3 separate regions of the Homo sapiens genome follow, and all the other regions are linked to region 1. Evidence: promoter capture Hi-C in human tissues and cell types (Jung and others, 2019). All regions are on one chromosome and are shown on one strand. The core of a region is centred on a gene start or on the middle of the fragment in contact, and the rest is flanking DNA. Distances in the headings are between cores, read along the strand shown. Region 1 holds the start of ZNF732 (zinc finger protein 732). Region 2 overlaps ZNF718 (zinc finger protein 718). Region 3 overlaps ZNF721 (zinc finger protein 721).

The links. The method cuts DNA at HindIII sites, captures the fragments that hold promoters and counts their contacts. A contact is called where the count stands out against the background at its distance.
Region 2: a fragment that was not itself captured here is called in contact with the fragment with the promoter of ZNF732 in region 1 in 7 of the 25 tissues and cell types used here (dorsolateral prefrontal cortex, heart left ventricle, hippocampus and 4 more).
Region 3: a fragment that was not itself captured here is called in contact with the fragment with the promoter of ZNF732 in region 1 in 8 of the 25 tissues and cell types used here (dorsolateral prefrontal cortex, heart left ventricle, heart right ventricle and 5 more).

What each region holds. Positions count from the first base shown.
Region 1 is chr4:303,763-307,792 of GRCh38, reverse strand. ZNF732 (zinc finger protein 732) reads left to right here and starts at 2,319. Exons shown (of 4, transcript NM_001137608.3): 1 at 2,319-2,485. The coding sequence starts at 2,483. LOC105374336 (a long non-coding RNA gene) reads left to right here. Exons shown (of 2, transcript XR_925020.3): 2 at 1-458. The HindIII fragment of the contact is 17,523 bases long and covers 1-4,030 here.
Region 2 is chr4:158,743-162,772 of GRCh38, reverse strand. It overlaps ZNF718 (zinc finger protein 718), which reads right to left. Exons shown (of 4, transcript NM_001039127.6): 4 at 1-1,861. The coding sequence ends at 651. Among named protein-coding and RNA genes, the nearest start is that of ZNF718, 36 kb to the right of the region's middle. The HindIII fragment of the contact is 3,300 bases long and covers 634-3,933 here.
Region 3 is chr4:443,294-447,323 of GRCh38, reverse strand. ZNF721 (zinc finger protein 721) reads left to right here. Exons shown (of 3, transcript NM_133474.4): 3 at 2,892-4,030. It also overlaps the pseudogene ABCA11P. Among named protein-coding and RNA genes, the nearest start is that of ZNF721, 54 kb to the left of the region's middle. The HindIII fragment of the contact is 5,137 bases long and covers 1-4,030 here.

The DNA of each region.
Region 1 (4,030 bases), core at 1,070-3,569:
GGCAGGGAACTTAAGGCCAATTCGTGCTGAATTCCTAAAGAAGAAACACCAAGGTCTGGGAGCAGGGAACCTAAGGCCAATTAACGTGAACTTCCTACATCTAAACCAAAAGGAAAACCTCATCTACACCTGAGTAGCAAAGGATCAAAGGTGACTGTTGCTACAACCCTCTCCTTTGCACCAGTTCTCTGATAGAAAAGGAGAGTGACTTGGAGTGGCCGTGGGCCAAGCACAGGCCATGCCTTCATCTGCATGGGGTACCAATTCACCTCAGCCTTTGATTAGCCACGGACCAAATCTTTCATCCAGATAAGGGGTAGCTGATAGGGACCTCAAAAGGAGTACTTAAAACCCAGATAACTTTGTAACCGGGTCCTTGAGCTGCTTGCTGGGGCTCACACCCATCCCGTGGAGTGCTTTCTTGCTTTAATAAACCCCTGCTTTTGCTGTTTCCTTCATGTGTTTCGTTCCATTTTGCATTTTGTTCAATTCTTTGTTCAAAATATCAAGGACCTGGACAACTCACACTCACGGCCTTCCTTCTGGGAACAGAAGTGCAGGTAGAAGTGGATGCATGTGATTGGTGCTTAAACTCACACAGTGCCCCACACCACAGGAGAAAAACACACAGTTACAGCCTGACAGGTCCAAAGATAAATAGCAAAACAAGAAATTTGCCTTTAATCTATTCCCTCCACATCTAAACTCTGGAGGGCAAGGCTGTGAAGAGATCTGAATACATGGTGCTCTCTCTTCCTGTGGACCCATCATTCCTTGTTTACTGTCTGATATTTAAAAGGAAGAGGAACCCCTGAGAGAGGAGGCAGTCAGAAGCTAGTTAGGAAGATAGGGAGGGAGGGTCTCTGGAGAGGAAAAACACCCATGGGACCGCACATGCACCACCCTTGTAGCTAGTGGGAAGAAATGTGGTTAAGAACTTCCTCTTATGCCAGGATGTTGATCAGAAGGGACTGTCCCCACTTAGGCCCAGGTGTAATAAATCAACCTAAATGTCATTAACTTGACCCAGCTCCTTATAATGTTACCTAACATGACATAAGTATTTTGGTTTTAGCTTCACCCTTTCCACCTGCTGTGGGTTTCGCTTGGGCACTCATGGGTAATAACCAAGACGGAGTCACTGTGGTCAATCCCAGGCATGCTCAGATGCAACACTGTTATAGGGGAACTTTACCCCTCCCATTTGGGCAGAGCCCACAGAAGACTTCCTTGTTCTTGCCATATAAACTCAGCCCCATTTCTGGCACCCTGCTTTCATGTCCCCTCTTACTGCTGAGAGCTTTCCCTATGCTTAATAAATCCTATTCTGCTTTACTCACTCTCTGGTGTCTGTATGTCTTATTCTTCCTGGTCATGGGAAGAGAGCCCAGACGTGGTTGAACTGAGGAGACCACCACACTGGTACCAAACAGCAAGGGGGAGACAGTGATCTTCACGTGGACACTCTCAGCTTGCAGCCCCTGCTCTCTCTAGGGGCACTGTCCTACCCATCCTTCATCCTGAGGAGAAAAGTTGGTAGAGAGGCTGGTCCCTTACTTCCAGTAGAAAAGACGTGTTCAGGCCCTCACTTTCTTGAGGTCAGAGCCCTCATGGCTGTACTCGATGTGGCAGCCACCAGACATATGTAGCTACTGAGTACCTGGAATGTGGCTGGTTTGAGGTAAAATGTGCTGCAAACATAAAATACACAGTGAGTTTAGACGAATTAAATCAGAAATATACTTTATTTCTAATTATATATTGATCACATATTGAAACAATATTTTGGATACAATAGGTTAAAATATAAACAATTTCACTTGTTTCTTTTTATTATTTTTGATGTGGCTAATAAAAAATTGAAAATTCACAAATAGCTAACATTTTATTTTTTAAAGGATTGCTTCCCCCTTAAAATCCTACTCAAAAGACCAGAGGACAGAGAGGTTATGAAATCTAAAATATTAAAATAATTGTCATTATATTGTTTCCATTTGTGAACAAGTGTGTGTCTGTGTGTGTGCGCGCGCGTACGTACACAATTTATAAATGGGCGTAACCTTACACACCAGAAGGTTAAAAATGAACCCCCAACAGAGCCAAGCCTAGCACAGAAAGCCCTGACTGAAAATACCTGGAGGCACGAGTCTGTCTCTCTTGCCTCATTAAGTGCACTGTGTGGTGGCAAGTTCTGTCACTCAAATTCTGAGCGTGGGGAGCTTGGTATCTTATCCAATCAGAGCGCTGGATTGAGAACTGCCCAATCAGGCGCGCAGCCGGAGAGGAGGGGGCGGCATCCGGGATCTGGCGCGGCTTTTGCCTTTTGCGCCAGCGTGAGCTCGGTTAGGGTCTCCACGGCCGTGCTTTCACCCCTCAGGGAGGCGTCGGTGATTCGGTCACAGCCTCAGCCTCCGTCGCTCTGTGACCTGCGGGTATTGGATGATTCGTAGCTGAGACTCCGCTACACCCCTGAAGTGGGGAAATGGTGAGTGTGGGGGCAGGGCGTCCCAAGGCTGGGGAGGCCTCATCCGAACCGGCGGGAAATGGCGGCGGCGGGACGGAGTCTGCGAACGGAGTCTCCGCTGCCGCCGCTCAGCCCTCAGTCCTTGGTCCCTTCCGGTGAGGGACCCGGGTTCATGTCGGTCCCCGCAAGGCGGCTTTGGCCCAGCCTGCAGCCCTACTTGTGCAGCTCTGCGCCCGCAGCCCCGCACCTTCCCTGGGCTGTGGGGTGAGGAGGAGCTCATCGGGAAAACGCCTGCGTGGCGTGCGAGGTGCCCGCCTGGGAGGAGCTGTGGTCCGGTCGTCGAGTCCCTACTTTACCCTGTTCGGAATAAGATCGAGGCCCTATCAAAACATAGAGTTCATGTGAGCAAATGGGGACTAATTAATGGGACAGCCCCGGGCATGGCTTGTGGTTTGGGGGCTGCCAGCGGGTCTTGAAGGAAAAGCTTTTGTGAGGTGTGTGAGGAAGCGAAGCAAATCACCCGCCCGCTCCAACTTGCCCACCAGTCCCCTTGCCCTGTGCGCCTCCTCCGCGTGGCTGTTCCTGAGTGGCATCTTTTAGAATACGCTGGTGTGGGCGCGCACAGCGCTTCGCTGAGTTCTGTGAGTAGTTCTGCCACATTATTGAACTTGAGGAGGGTGTGGGCGCCCCTGGTTTGTAGGCAGGCGTTCAGAAATGAAGACGGGTGTCCAGAGGCAGGGACTGCCGTCTGCAGGGGGGGGGCAGCTGCGGGAAGAGCGCTGAGCTTGTGGGGTCTTCGCTGACTCTGGGTGGTGTCGTTAGTGAGTTGCTGGACACCGCGTTGGGGTTGGAGCATTGACTGATGTTGAGCAAACTCCGCACGTTTTCTGTCAGAAGAAAGACATGGCTGAGCCTGGGCTGGAGAAAGATGCCTGGTGTCTGCGGGAGGCGCGGCCGGGTTCTGCACATGTGCTGTCCCGCTGGGCACTGTCCTTTTCCTCCAGGTCTCCTTCCGGGGAGAGAAGGGACTGGGAACTTAGAGGAAAGGAGTTCTGAGAAACATCCCTTCCCTGCACCCTGCTGCCAGCCCCCACTTAATGCTAACCCACTCCCGAGGACGCTCACTGGCCATTCGCATTGCCACACTCCTCCCAGGACAGGGTTCTACCCTCAGGAATTGTGCCCGTGACAGCTTTGCTCCTAGGGTATTCTGCCAATAACACACACAGTGCCAGGAAGACTCCTGGCTCATTTCAACCCCAGACACTGGATCTATAGCAGGAACCTGTTTCCTTCCCCCACCCAGGCTTCTGGACCACCTGATCCTAATCTCCTCTGCCTTTATGGACACATGAATCAGTCAGATGGTAACCCTGCCTAGACCTGCACTTGTAGCACAAACTAGTCTTTTATTTAGTCAGTCCTGCCCTGTCCCCACCATGACTCTTGATAGCTCCTTTCTCTCTTCTGCTTTTTTCTTCCTCACAAATCTTATTTCCTGTGCACACAGTGTGCCCAAGTCCATCCCTCACTTGCCTGCGAGAATTCAGACGTTAGTGACTTCAA
Region 2 (4,030 bases), core at 1,034-3,533, 140 kb after region 1:
CAAATGCTTTTCCAAATTTATTACATTTGTAAAATTTCTTTCCAATATAAATTCTCTAATGTCAAAGAAAGTTTGGGCAACTGCTTCAGGGTTTTCTTCTAGTATGAAATATGCACAATAAGACCCATGATGCAAGTACAGGTACTACAACCCTCTTACTATTTCTATTGTCTATCTTCAGAATACTCTTCTTCACTTTTAAGACCTGTATTTTCTAATAGGTCTTTCAACAAATACTACATTTATAATCCTTTTATTAAGTACAAACTCTCTGATATTTAGTAACACATGAGTAGGCATTAATGGCTTTTCTACATTTTCTATATTTGTACAATTTTTCTCAAGTATAAATGCTATCATGTGCAAAGAGATATGAGCATTGGTTAAAGGTTTTGCCACACTTTTAATATTCCTAGGGGTTTTCTGCAGTAAGAATTATATTCAGTAATATGTGACAAGCATTTGAAGGCTTTTCCACATTTTTCATATTTTTATGGCTTCTCACCAATACCATTTCTCTTATGTTTAGAACAGATTGAGTTGCGGTTAAAAGCTTTGTCAATTTTTTCATGTGTAGAGTTTCTCTCCAGTATGAATTATGATTAGAAAAGACTGAGGAAGACTTAAAGGCTCCCACATTCTTCACATTTCTAAAATTTTCCTCCAGTATGAGTTCTCTTATGTTGAGGAAGGTTGGAGTACTGCTTAAAAGCTTTCCCGCATTCTTTACATTTGTAGGGTTTATCTACAGTGTGAATTTTCTTATGTTTATTCAAGTGTGAGGACTGTTTAAAGGCTTTGCCACATTGTTTACATATGTAGGGTTTCTCTCCAGTATGAATTTTCTTATGATTATGCAGGTTTGCAAACACTTTAAAGGCTTTGCCACAATCTTCACATTTGTAGGGATTTTTTCCAGAGTGAATTCTCTTGTGTACATTAAGGGTTGAGGACCAATTAAAGGCTTTTCCACATTCTTCACATGTGTAGGGTTTCTCTCCAGTATGGATTCTCTTATGTGTCGTAAGAGTTGTGGACCTATTAAAGGATTTTCCACATTCTTCACATTTGTAGGGTTTCTCTCCTGTATGAATTCTCTTATGTTTAGCAAAGTCTGAGGATGTGGTAAAGACATTGCCACATTCTTCGCATGAGAAGGGTTTCTCTCCAGCATGAATTCTCTTATGTTCATTAAGGGATGAGGACCACTTAAAGGCTTTACCACATTCTTCACATTTGTAGTATTTTTGTGCAGAATGAATTCTCTTATGTAAATTAAGGGTTGAGGATTGGTTAAAAGCTTTACCACATTTTTCACATATGTAGGGTTTCTCTCCAGTATGAATTCTCTTATGTTTAGTAAGGTGTGAGGACCGAGTAAAGCCTTTACCACATTCTTCACACTTGTAGAATTTCTCTCTGGCATGAATTCTCTTATGTTTAGTAAGAATTGAGGACCAATTAAAGGCTTTGCCACATTCTTCACATGTGTAGGGGTTCTCTCCAGTATGAATTCTTTTGTGTTGAGTTAGGCGTGAGAGCACGTGAAATGATTTGCCACATTCTTTACATTTAAAGGTTTTATCTCCAGTATATCTTATCTTATCTTTGTTTGAATTTGAAAATTTATGAAAAACTTTGACACATATATTAGATTGAATTGTTTTTTTCTGGGTAGTTAATAAGCATTGGTTAATTCTATTATAACCACCTTTCTGCACCTTACACTCATTTATACTTTTACAAGTTTTTCTTAAATTCTCATGTCCACGTTTCTCATGTCCTTTTGGTATAAGTTTGTGGAATGAATCTTCTATGCCCTGCACTGTCCAAAGGTTTTGGGTGAAATGAGAACACACAGCTGAAAGAAATAAAAATAACAAATTATCCCACTTACTAGATTCATATAAATATACTTTACAGGCCAGGCACTATAGCTCAAGCCAGTAATTCCAGCAGTTTCCGAGGCCAAGGTGGGCAAATAATGAGGTAAGGAGTTCGAGACCAGCCTGGCCAACATGGTGAAACACTGTCTGTACTAAAAATACAAAAAAAATGTGCTGGGAATGATGGTGCATGCCTATAATCCCAGCTACTTGGGAGGCTGAGGCAGGAGAATCCCTTGAACCCGGGAGGTAGAGGCTTCCATCAGCCAAGATCACACCACTGCACTCCAGAAAAGGTGACAGTGTGAGACCCCATCTCAATAAATAAATAAACAAATAAGTAAATAAATATACTTTACAAATCTAATACAATTACAAATCTAATATATAAAATTATACAAAGTATATCAGTAAGATGCTCAGTAAATACCACAGGCCATAATTTCTTTACAGACATATATAACAAAAATATACTGACCAAAATGCCTTTGTGTGAAATCTATAAATGAGTTAATTATGTGCAATGCCTCAGGTAAGCACAATTCCAAGAGCCACATAAAACACGAAGTAAAGTATGTTACATTTACCCACTGCAGCTCTTCCTTCCCACAAATATAGCATTGTGCTTTAGGAGTAAACTGCCAACACCTGGCTTCTTAGAGGAAAAATAGTGACACACGCATTCCTACTTCTGGTTTTTGGAAATTATTACAAAAGCTGGTTTCTGTCTCCAATAATACAGGGTGCTGAAAGAAATGGTGGTGAGTCTGCTGAGACCAAAGGTAAATGTTTCATGAGCAGACAGCAGTGCTAAAAACAGGGAACAGGTAGAGCAAGTGATTAGAAACCATAAGAAGAAACATGAACAAACTCTTTTAACTGAAGAATAAACACAAAATTCTAGACAAGACACACCCTTACAACATGTATGAGAGGCTCCCATAATCTCTATCAAAGACAACTGGTTTCAGACTATGTGAGGACAAGGCAACATTGTAAAGATTGTGACAAATAGCTTTTAGTTCATGTTCAAATAACAATATTACAATGTAGGCAAAATACTAGGGCAACATGGCCCAATTAAAAAATTTGAAAATTTTCAGAAAACAACTATAAATAATGAAGATATTCAAAATTTAAAAGTTTAACCTGAATAATGCTCAATGAGTGAAATAGAAACATATACAATTTATAAAATCAGAAAAATAAGAATATCAATGAAAACATTAAAAATATAAAAAACAAGTCATGAAGGTGAAAAATACAACAATAATGACTGAGACATTTTCAAAAGTAAAAAAAGGATGTAAAAACTGAAGATGCTCCACAAGCTTCAACTAGGATACACACATAGAGATTTATAACAAGACACATACAAGCAAAGTTTCAAAAGTCAAAGACAAGAAGAGAATCTTAGGAGTTACAAGGTAAAAGTGATGTGTCATTTATAAATAAGTGTGGTCTTATAAGATAACCAGTGAATCTGTCAAAAAAAAAAAATTCCAGATGTCATGGAATTGTAATATAAAGTGGTGAAAGAAAAATAGCTTCGGCCAGGCACAGTGGCTCAGACCTGTAATCCCAACACTTTGGGAGGCCAAGGTGGGCAGATCACAAGGTCAGGAGTTCGAGACCATCCTTGCCAACATGGTGAAACCCTGTCTCTACTAAAAATACAAAAAAATTAGCCAGGTGTGGTGCACATGCCTGTAGTCCCAGCTACTCGGGAGGCTGAGGCAAAAGAATTGCTTGAACCCAGGAGGCAGAGGTTGCAGTGAGCCAAGATCGCGCCACTGCACTCTAGCCTGGGCGACAAAACAAGACTCCATCTCAAAAAAAAAAAAAAGAAAAAAGAAAAAAAGAATAGCTCCTAAGTGGGACTAATATAACCAGCAAAACTGTCCTAAAAATGAAGAAAAAGTAAAGACCTTGCAAGATAACCAAATGCTGAAAAAGTATATTAGCACTACATCTGCCTTGCAAAAAAAAAAAAAGGCTAAAGAAAGTATCTTTCACTGAAAATAACATAATGCAAGAAAACAAAACATAATCATATGAAAACATAATTTTCTAGGAAAGATATGCACATACAAAAATATAAAGTTCTATATCATTATCATGATAGCACAGAAAATATTTTATTC
Region 3 (4,030 bases), core at 962-3,461, 140 kb before region 1:
TTGAGACGGAGTCTTGCTCAGTCACCCAGGATGGAGTGCAGTGGCGCGATCTCGGCTCACTGCAAGCTCTGCCTCCTGGGTTCATGCCATTCTCCTTCCTCAGCCTCCCCAGTAGCTGGGAGTACGGTGCCTGCCACCACACCTGGCTAGATCTTTTTGTATTTTCAGTAGAGATGGGGTTTATCCATGTTAGCTAGGATGGTCTCAATCTCCTGACCTTGTGATCCACCCGCCTCGGCCTCCCAAAGTGCTGGGATTACAGGTGTGAGCCACTGTGCCCTGCAAAATAATATATTTTAAACTGGTAAAAACGAGTTGCATTTGAAAAATTCTTCCTCAGCCAGGCGCGGTGACTCACGTGTGTAATCCCAGCAATTTGGGAGGCTGAGGCAGGCGGATTACGTAAAGAGATCGAGACCATCCTGGTCAACATGTTGAAACCCCATCTTCACCAGAAATGCAAAAATTTGCTGGGCGTGGTGGTGCGCCTGTAGTCCCAGCTACTTGGGAGGCTGAGGCAGGAGAATTGCTTGAACCCAGGAGGGGAGGTTGCAGTGAGCCAAGATTGTGCTGCTGCACTCCAGCCTGGCAACAGAGTGAGACTCTGTCTAAAAAGAAAAAAAAGAAAAAAAAAAGAAAATTCGGGGTTGGGTGTGGTGGCTCACGCCTGCAATCCCAGCACTTTTGGAGGCTGAGGCAGGCAGATAACGAGGTCAGGAGTTCGAGACCAGCCTGGCCAGTATGATGAAACCCTGTCTCTATTAAAAATACAAAAAGTAGAAGAGCATGGTGGTGTGTACCTGTAGTTCTAGCTACTCAGGAGGCTGAGGCAGAAGAATTGCTTGAACTGGGCAGGCAGAGGTTGCAGTGAGCCAAGATAGTGCCACTGCACTCCAGTCTGGGTGACAGAGTGAGACTCTGTCTCAAAAAAAAAAAAAAAAAGAAAACTTCCTCATTACATCTGTCCTCGTTTGTTATTGATGTCAGTAATCATATTTTTATGTGGTATATTATTACCAGATAATGATCAACAGTTTATGATCATTTTTATGCTTTTAACTTTAAAATTTTAGAGAATAATTAAAATGTTTTCCGCACTATTAGGATAGTGGTACAGAACTTTGTGTACGTGCATATCTTTTTCAGAAAGTTACATATTTTCGTATGATTATGTTTGGTTTTCTTGCATTATGTTATTTTCACTGGAAGACACTTTCTTCAGCATTTTTTTGGTAAGACAGGTGTTGTGCTAATATACTTTTTCAGCATGTGCTTATCTTGAAAGGTCTTTACTTTTTCTTCATTTTTAGGACAGTTTTGCTGGTTATATTATTCCCATGTAGAATTTTTTTTTCTCCAGCATCTTAATTATATTGCAGTTCCTTCTGGTGTGAAATAGTTTTGTTGACAGATTCACTGGTAATCTTATAAGACCACACTTATAAATGACACATCACTTTTTGTAGTTCCTAAAATGCCCTTCTTGTGTTTGATTTTTCAAACTTTGCTCATGTATATATATGTGCCTTGCGATAAATCTGTGTGTGTATCCTAGTTGAAGTTTGTTGAGCTGCTTCATTTATTACATCCTTTTTTTAACTTCTGAAAATTTCTGAGTCATTATTTTATATTTTTCACCTCCTTTTTTTATGTTTTTAATGTTTTCATTGATGTTCTGATTTTTCTGATTACATTTAGTTATATGTGTTTTCAGTTAACTGATTCAGCATTATTCAGATTACATTTAAAAAATTAGTACATCTTTTTTTATGGTTTTCTGAAAATTTTAAAATCATTATAATGTGTTCTAATATTTTGTATACATTGTAATATTTGCTTGTTATTTGAACATTAACAAAAAGCTATTTGTCACAATCTTTATTATGTTGCTTTGTCATGATGTAGTCTGAAGCCAGTTGTCTTTGGTAGAGATTATGGGAACCTGTCATACATGTTGGAAGGATGTCTCTTGTCTGGAATTTTGTGTTTATTTTTTAGTTAAAAGGGTTTCTTCATGTTTCCTGTTAAGAGGCTCTAATTGGCCAGGCATGGTGGCTCACTCCTGTAATCCCAGCAACTTTAGGAGGCTGAGGCAGGTGGATCACGAGGTCAGGAGATTGAGACCATCCTGGCTAACATAGTGAAACCCCATCTCTACTAAAAATACAAAAATTAGCTGGGCGTGGTGGTAGGTGCCTGTAGTCCCAGCTATTGGGGAGGCTGAGGCAGGAGAATGGCATGAACCCAGGAGGTGGAGCTTGCAGTGAGCCAAGATCCCGCCACTGCACTCCAGCCTGGGCGACAGAGTGAGACTCCATCTCAAAAAAAAAAAAAAAAAAAAAAAGTCTCTCATCACTTGCTGTACCTGTTGCCTGTATTCAGCACTTCAGTCTGCTTTTGAAATATTTATATTTTGTCTTCGAATACCCAAGTTGTTCTTCCAAAGTATCACCATTTCTTTCAGCACTGTTTTATTGGAGGCAGAAATCAGTTTTTGTAAAGACCCCAAAAGCCAGAAATAAGGATATGTGTGTCAGTATTTTTCTTCTCTTTTAAGGAAAAAGGAGTTGAGAGCTTTCTTCTAATGGCATAGTGCTATATTGGGGAGGAAGAGCTGTTGGTGGGTAAATTGAACAAACATTCCTTCCTGTTCTATGTGGCTCTTGGCATTGTGCTTACCTGAGGGATTGCATACAATTAACTCATTTATAGATTTCACACAAAGGCATTTTGATCACCATATGTTTGTTACATGTATATGTGAAGAAGTTATGACTTGTGGTATTTTGTTATGTGATCTTACTAGCGTACTTTGTATAATCTTATGATTTGTAAAGTATATGCATATGAATCTAGTAACTGGGATAATTTGTTATTTTTGTTTCTTTCAGCTATGTGTTCTCATTTCACCCAAGACTTTTTGCCAGTGCAGGGGATAGAAGATTCATTCCACAAACTTATACTGAGAAGATATGAGAAATGTGGGCATGATAATTTACAATTAAGGAAAGGCTGTAAAAGTATGAACGTGTGTAAAGTGCAGAAGGGAGTTTATAATGGAATTAATAAATGCTTGTCAAATACTCAGAGCAAAATATTTCAATGTAATGCACGTGTCAAAGTTTTTAGTAAATTTGCAAATTCAAACAAAGATAAGACAAGACATACTGGAGAGAAACACTTTAAATGTAACGAATGTGGCAAGTCATTTCAGAAGTTCTCAGACCTAACTCAACATAAAGGAATTCATGCTGGAGAGAAACCCTACACTTGTGAAGAACGTGGCAAAGACTTTGGATGGTACACAGACCTGAATCAACACAAGAAAATTCATACTGGAGAGAAACCTTACAAATGTGAAGAATGTGGCAAAGCCTTTAATAGGTCAACAAACCTTACTGCACATAAGAGAATTCACAACAGAGAGAAAGCTTACACAGGTGAAGATCGTGACAGAGCCTTTGGATGGTCCACAAACCTGAATGAATATAAGAAAATTCATACTGGAGATAAACCCTACAAATGTAAAGAATGTGGGAAAGCCTTTATGCATTCCTCACACCTGAATAAACATGAGAAAATTCATACTGGAGAGAAACCCTACAAATGTAAGGAATGTGGCAAAGTCATTTCCTCATCCTCAAGCTTTGCTAAACATAAGAGGATTCATACTGGCGAGAAACCCTTTAAATGTTTAGAATGTGGTAAAGCCTTTAATATTTCCACAACCCTTACTAAACATAGGAGAATTCATACTGGAGAGAAACCCTACACATGTGAAGTATGTGGCAAAGCCTTTAGACAGTCCGCAAACCTTTATGTACATAGGAGAATTCATACTGGAGAGAAACCCTACACATGTGGAGAATGTGGCAAAACCTTTAGACAGTCCGCAAACCTTTACGTACATAGGAGAATTCATACTGGAGAGAAACCTTACAAATGCGAAGACTGTGGCAAAGCCTTTGGACGGTACACAGCCCTGAATCAACACAAGAAAATTCATACTGGAGAGAAACCTTACAAATGT